Regions from separate parts of the Homo sapiens genome. Here region 1 is linked to region 2. The links are contacts of gene promoters, found by promoter capture Hi-C in human tissues and cell types (Jung and others, 2019). All regions are on one chromosome and are shown on one strand. Each heading gives the region's core, a stretch centred on a gene start or on the middle of the fragment in contact. The rest is flanking DNA. Distances are from core to core; before and after follow the strand shown.

Region 1 (3,291 bases), core at 134-2,633, 580 kb after region 2:
GGATACTTGCTGGCCACATCCCTAGGCCCCCAGATCCCTGCCGGCTCTCAGTCCCCATGCGACCAGGCCCCCATCATAGGGAGGACTGAAGCTGCAGGGCTTGCTATTCCAGAGCCCTCCAACCACAGGGGCAGCCGTGCCCAACACCTCCCACGGGCAGAAGCCGCTGGAGGGCACAGGGGCACCAGAAGGAATCCCTCCCTTCGCAGCCTCTTGCGCTGAAAAACCCGCAGTCACCACTTTGGCTAAACCAAGCCTCACGAGCCCTGTCTGGCCATTCTTGCTCATGACCAGGGTTCAGCTTCCACTCAAAAGCACAAGCACAGTGAGCTCGATGACAGCCTTCAAGAACGTCACACGGGACCAGTCTACTCTACTTGCAGAGACAGAGGGAAGGCCAGGACATCCTTAAAGGAAAAGGAGATGGACCCATGGGAGAAAACCTGGGTCTCAGCCCCAGCCCTGACCCCTCCAGGCTCAACTCCCTACCTGCTCGGCTGGGCTTCCTAAGGCTCACTTCCAAAACCCTACGGCACAGGTACAGTGCACTGCTATTACCTGACAATCCCTATGCCGTTAACTTTATGGATGTGGAAGGGACAGGGAGGCTGGAGGCTGTTTTCAGGGTGTGCAATCCAAGCCCATTTTCACACTGGCATTGGGAGGCCGGGAGAGGACATGCACCGTGGAGGCGGTGTCTGGATGTCGCCGGGGACATGAGGAGAAAACACTTCAAGTACAATCATCAACCAGCATGTTAAAAGTTGTGAAATTTTGTATACCCTTTGTTCGGCAGTGTCAATCAAAAGAAAATGTGTTCCCCATATACAAAAATCAACTGGAGATGGATTACAGGCTGAAACCTAAGACCCAAAAATATAAAAAATACTAAAGAAAACAAGGAAAACACTTCAGGACATTGGTCTAGGCAAAGATTTTATAGCTAAGACCTCAAAAGCACAGGCAACAAAAACAAAAATAGACAAATGGGACTACATCAAAGTAAAAAGCTTCTGCCCATCCAAGAAAACAATCAACAGAGTGAAGAGACAGCCTCTTGAATGCAGGAAAATATCTGTCAACTCTTCGGCCAATAAGGGACTAACATCCAAAATACAACTCAAAAGAAACTCAAATAACAACAATTAAAAAAACATAAATAATCCCACGAAAAAGTAGGCAAAGGACACAAAGAGACATTTCTCAAAGGATGACATGCAAATGGCCAACAGGTATATGAAAAAATGGTCAACATCACTAATCATCGGGGGAATTGCAAATCAAAACCACAATGAGATACCACCTTACCTCAGCTTAAAATGGCTAATAAACAGACCAAAAAACACACAGACAGATGCTGGTGAGGATGCAGAGGAAAGGGAACTCTCAGCTGCTGTTGGAAGGAATGTAAATTAGTACCACCGCTATGGAACCCAGTATGGAGATTTCTCAAAAAGCTGAAAACAGAACACCACCACATGATCCAGCAATCCCACCACTGGGTATTTACTCAAAGGAAATCACTGTATCAAAAAGATACCTGCATTCCCATGTTTATCACAGCAAAGATGGCAAAGATACGGAATTAACCTGTGTCTATCGACAGACGAATGGATAAAGAAAATGGGGATGTACACACAGTGGAATGCTATCCGGCCGTAAGAAAGAACAAGAGCTGGGCCGAGCGCGGTGGCTCACGCCTGTAATCCCACCGCTTTGGGAGGCCGAGGCAGGTGGATCAGGAGGTCAGGAGTTCGAGACCAGCCCGGCCAACATGGTGAAACTCCATCTCTACTAAAAATACAAAAATTAGCCAGGCGTGGTGGCACACGCCTGTAATCCCAGCTACTCAGGAGGCTGAGGCAGGAGAATCACTTGAACCAGGGAGTCAGAGGTTGTAGTGAGCCAAGATGACGCCACTGCACTCCAGCCTGGCAACAGAGCAAGACTCCATCTCAAAAAAAAAGAAAGAATGAGAGCCTGTCATTTGTAACAACGTGGCTGGAATGGGAGGTGACCGTGTCAGGTGAAACCACCAGGAACAGAAAGAAACTGCACGTCTTCACTCATGGGAGCTGTGGAAATTCACCTCCTAAAGGCAGAGAGTAGAATGACAGGAACTAGTGGATTGAAAGGTCTGGGTGAGCGGAACCACAGATGAAGAGAGTTGAGTTAATGGGTACGAACATACAGTTAGATGAAAGGTATAAATTCAGTTGTTCCACAGAAGAGGAGGGTGACTAGAGTTAACAGTGTATTGTATAATTCAAAGTAGCTAGAAGAGAACCAGAATTTTTCCCAATACGTGGAAATGATAAATACTCAAAGTGATGGTTACCCCAAATACCCTAAACTTGCCCATTCCACATTCTGTGCACGTAAGAAAATATCACAGGTACTCCATAAATATGTAAAATATTATGTATAAAAATAAATAAATGGTAAATAAATAAATAAAAGAAAATGGGCTCTCTGGGGATGAAGTGTATGAGCTTTAGCTAGTGGAAACAGAATGGGTTTAAGGCAATGGTTTCAGAGCACTCCATATCAGAAAAAGAAAAGATGAAATGGTTTTGCCAACATGTGGACATTTCTGAGGCCACAAAGGAGGTCCCATCAAGAACAAGGTGGAATCCGATCAAACGGGTCAGGAGGTCACCTCCTGAACTCTACAGGAAGCATTCCGGCGCCCTCTTCTCGTATTAACAGCAGCCTGTGGAGAAGGACGGAGGCCACCATCTGGAGTAAAGGACATACCCTTGAACCAAGCGGGGTGGGGAGGAGGAGCCCAGGAGGCTCTGGGCACGCGGAGGAGTCCACAGGGGTGGACTGTGAGCTCTCAGAGAGGCTTGCACGGAGAAGCAGCACGGGAGCCGGAGAGCCGCTCCTCCGGCTTGGGGCTTCTGTGGCCTGGCAAGAAGGCTTGCTACCTGAGGAAGACTGGACCCTCCAAAAGGACGAGGCTAAGAGAGCGAGCAAAGGGGGGTCCTCAGGCCTGACCTGCTGACCTGCCACGCTCTTCCAAGAGGACATCCTGAGGAAACCCAAGACAAGCACCACACCTGGCCACGGTGGCATCCTGCCACCGTGTTGGGATGTTTTTAATTGTGGTAAAATACACTTAACATAAAATATACCATCTTAACCATTTTTAAGTCCCCAGTTCTGTCGTGTTGAGCATATTCATGTTATTGGGCAACCAGCACCACACCTATCCCCAGAACTCTTAATTTTGCAAAACTGAAACCCTGTCGCATTAAAGAGGAACTCCCACAGCCCCTCTGCTCCCAG
Region 2 (3,192 bases), core at 539-3,038:
CTGCTGCTTCTGCTTGTCTGCTGGATAAAATGCCTGCGGGCTGGACAAAGCATCCACTGAGGGCAAGCAGGGCGCCTTGAGACCCACAAATGCCCGGAAAATGCTATCGCTGTAGGGGTATTTGTCCGCCAGATGCCCCATGTCCTTACTGACAAATCACAGCCACTGGAGAGGTTTATGCTCCTCCCTGGGGGTCCCTTCCTGACCACTTTATTATTATTATTATTATTATTATTATTAAAGACAGAGTCTTGCTCTCTCACCCAGGCTGGAGCGCAGTGGCACAATCATGGCTCACTGCAGCCTCAACCTCCAGGGCTCAAGCCATCCTCCCACCTCAGCCTCCCAAGTAGCTGGGAGCACAGGCACACACCACTAGGCCCAGCTAATTTTTTGTTTCCTTTTCTTTTCCTTTTTTTTTTAAGACCAAGTCTCTATCTGTTACCCAGGCTGGAGTGCTGTGGCACGATCTTAGCTCACTGCAACCTCCGCCTCTCGGGTTCAAGCGATTCTTCTGCCTCAGCCTCCTGAGTAGCTGAGATTACAGGCATGTGCCACCACACCCAGCTAATTTTTATATTTTTCGTAGAAATGGGGTTTCCCCATGTTGGCCAGGCTGGTCTGGAACTTCTGACCTTAAGTGATCTGCCCGCCTCAGCCTCCCAAAGTGCTGGGATTACAGGTGTGAGCCACTGCACCCAGCCTCTCTCTATATATATATTTTGTGTAGGCACTTGTTTTTTTGTAGTGACTTGTGTGTGTGTTGTTGTGTTGCCCAGGCTGGTTTCAAACTCCTGGCCTCAAGCGATCTGCCCGCCTAGGCCTCTGAAAGTGCTAGGGTTACAGGCGTGAGCCACAGTTCCCGGCCAATCCACTTTACCTCATCCTGCCCCAGAAGGACTTTTGTGGTGAGCACAGGCTTGCTGACGTCACTGGCCACGCTGCTGGGCTCCAGGGAGACCAGGGTGCCCATCTTCCCAAACTGGGTCACCACCACCAGGATGTGACTGCTGAAGGCCGTACACACCACCTGGGTGGGGACCCCGCACACCACCTCCGTCTTCTGCTTCGATATCACCAACGGCGTGTCTTCCATGGCGGGGCTCTGCAGTGGCAGCTTTAATTTAGGTTAAAAAGAAAGGGGAAAAAAAGGAGTCAATCAAACAGTACAGCCTTGGGGCTCCCAAAAAAGTAGCACGGGGCATTGAAACGGAAACGCAAGGAGGCCCATTCAAAAGAAGGGGCCAGGCGCGGTGGCTCATGCCTGTCATCCCGGCACTTTGGGAGGCCGAGACAGGACGATCGTTGAGGCCAGGAATTCGAGACCAGCCTGGCCAACATAGCGAGACCCCCATCTCTACCAAAAAAAAAAAAAAAAAAAACCAGCAGGGCGCGCCTGTGGTCCCAGTTACTCAGGAGGCTGAGGCGGGAAGATCGCTTCAGCCCGGGAGGTCGAGGCTGCGGTGAGCCGTGATCACACCATTGCATTACAACCCGGGCGGTAGAGCGAGACCCTGTCCGTAAAAAAATAAAACAGAAGCAGGAGCGGGGCCGCCCATAGAGACCGCGCCTGGGGCTTTCTGGGTTAGGGGATCGACTTGCACGTTCACACTGCCAGGCCGGGCAGTGGCTTCCCGCCCCTCGGCCTCGCCGCCGCCCCGGCCCTGCAGCCGCGGCCCGGGACCCCCACGACACGCGGTGCCGAGGCCGGCCGGGCTACTGGGGACGCAGCCGCCCGGGGAAGCCCGCGGGTACCCGCGCTCACCAAGCCGGCGCCGCGCCCGGAAGTGGCTCTGCGTGCGCCACGCGGGCCCGCCCCGTCCGCGGGTTCCGTCCACCTTCCGGAAGTCAGGGCCGCGGCGCTTCTGGTCCCGGAGACTTGGGGCTCCCGGGCTTCTGAGCGGCTCGGGTTCCGCGCTGCCGGCAGGGCTTGGGGGCGCCTTAGAGCCGAACCCCGTTTTTTCAGGAAAGGGCGCTGCGACCACCCCCGTCCCGGGCCTCAGCCCCTCTGCTGCAGACCCTCGGGATCGTCGCTGGTAGGAGCTCTGTCCCCCGTGTCTGTGTCCAGGACCCCCGAAGCGCCGCGCCTAGGAACCCCCTAGCGCTGGGAGCCCGGCCCTGCTCGACCACGGGCTTTGGGCTGGAGGCGTCATCGTCGCCACAGCGAACGCTTATTTGGCACCGAGTGTCCGCCAGGCATCGCTCTAAGCGCTTTATACCCATAACTCACTTCATCTCAGCCACCCGGTTCCGTAGAAGCGTTTCATCCGCGTTTTACAGACGTGTGCAGGTGCAGAGAGCTCGGCCAGGCTCAGGCGGCGGGCGGGCTGGGGTGGGCTCCGACCGTCCCTCGGGCGCTCCGTGACACGAAGCCCCGGCCAAGGCCAAGAAGGGGGCCAGCCCCACCCTGAAGCGGGATGAGTTCTGGTTCCTCCCAGGGACCCCCTCACTCCCTACTGCTCACTCTCAGTTTCTCCAAGCTGGAAGGTTTTTTGTTTTGTTTTGTTTGAGACGGAGTCTTGCTGTGTCACCCAGGCTGGAGTGCAGTGGCGCGATCTCGGCTCACTGCAGCCTCCGCCTCCCTGGTTCAAGCAATTCTCCTGCCTCAGCCTCCTGTGTAGCTGGGATTACAGGCGTGCGCCACCAGGCCCGGCTAACTTTTTAAATTTTTAGTAGAGATGGGGTTTCACCATGTCGGTCAGGCTGGTCTTGAACTCCTGACCTCAGGTGATCTGCCTTCCTCGGCCTCCCAAAGTGCTGGGATTACAGGCGTGAGCCACCGCGCCCCGCTGCTGGAAGTTTTATTGGTAGGGTCGGACATCTTGGTAGCAGAGGCTGAAAGTGATTGGAGCCTCCAGAGCCTTCCTCGGGGTGGGGCGTTTAACATCCCTTCAGAACCCCACCCTCGGAGGCCTTACTGTCGTTTCCTGACAACCATGTCAAGGCCGTATTTTCTGTCTATATTACCAGAAAGGGGTCCCGATCCAGACCCCAAGAGAGAATTGAGGGCGAGTCCACAAAGTGAAAGCAAGTTTATTAGAAAAGTAAAGGAATTGAGGCAGGAAAACAGGGTCTGGAGGCAGGGAACACTTCAGCTATGACAGGAAATACCCTCTCCATAGGGTGTACACTGAGTAAATGATTTTGTAACTTTATTTCATCCTCTTTATTTACATAGGGCGTACACCAAGT

The links. Contacts are between HindIII fragments. The study calls those that stand out against the background at their distance.
Region 1: a contact is called between a fragment that was not itself captured here and the fragment with the promoter of PSMG3 in region 2, in 2 of the 25 tissues and cell types used here (dorsolateral prefrontal cortex and lymphoblastoid cells).

The regions. Positions count from the first base shown.
Region 1 is chr7:2,152,198-2,155,488 of GRCh38, forward strand. The region is part of intron 10 of MAD1L1 (mitotic arrest deficient 1 like 1); the gene reads right to left. Among named protein-coding and RNA genes, the nearest start is that of SNORA114, 65 kb to the left of the region's middle. The HindIII fragment of the contact is 4,469 bases long and covers 1-3,291 here.
Region 2 is chr7:1,568,244-1,571,435 of GRCh38, forward strand. PSMG3 (proteasome assembly chaperone 3) reads right to left here and starts at 1,789. Exons shown (of 2, transcript NM_032302.4): 1 at 881-1,789. The coding sequence starts at 1,096. It overlaps PSMG3-AS1 (PSMG3 antisense RNA 1), which reads left to right and starts at 1,830. Exons shown (of 5, transcript NR_027329.1): 1 at 1,830-2,036. RefSeq lists silencers at 1,461-1,890, 2,331-2,410 and enhancers at 1,519-2,087, 2,711-2,780, 2,791-2,840. The HindIII fragment of the contact is 18,965 bases long and covers 1-2,745 here.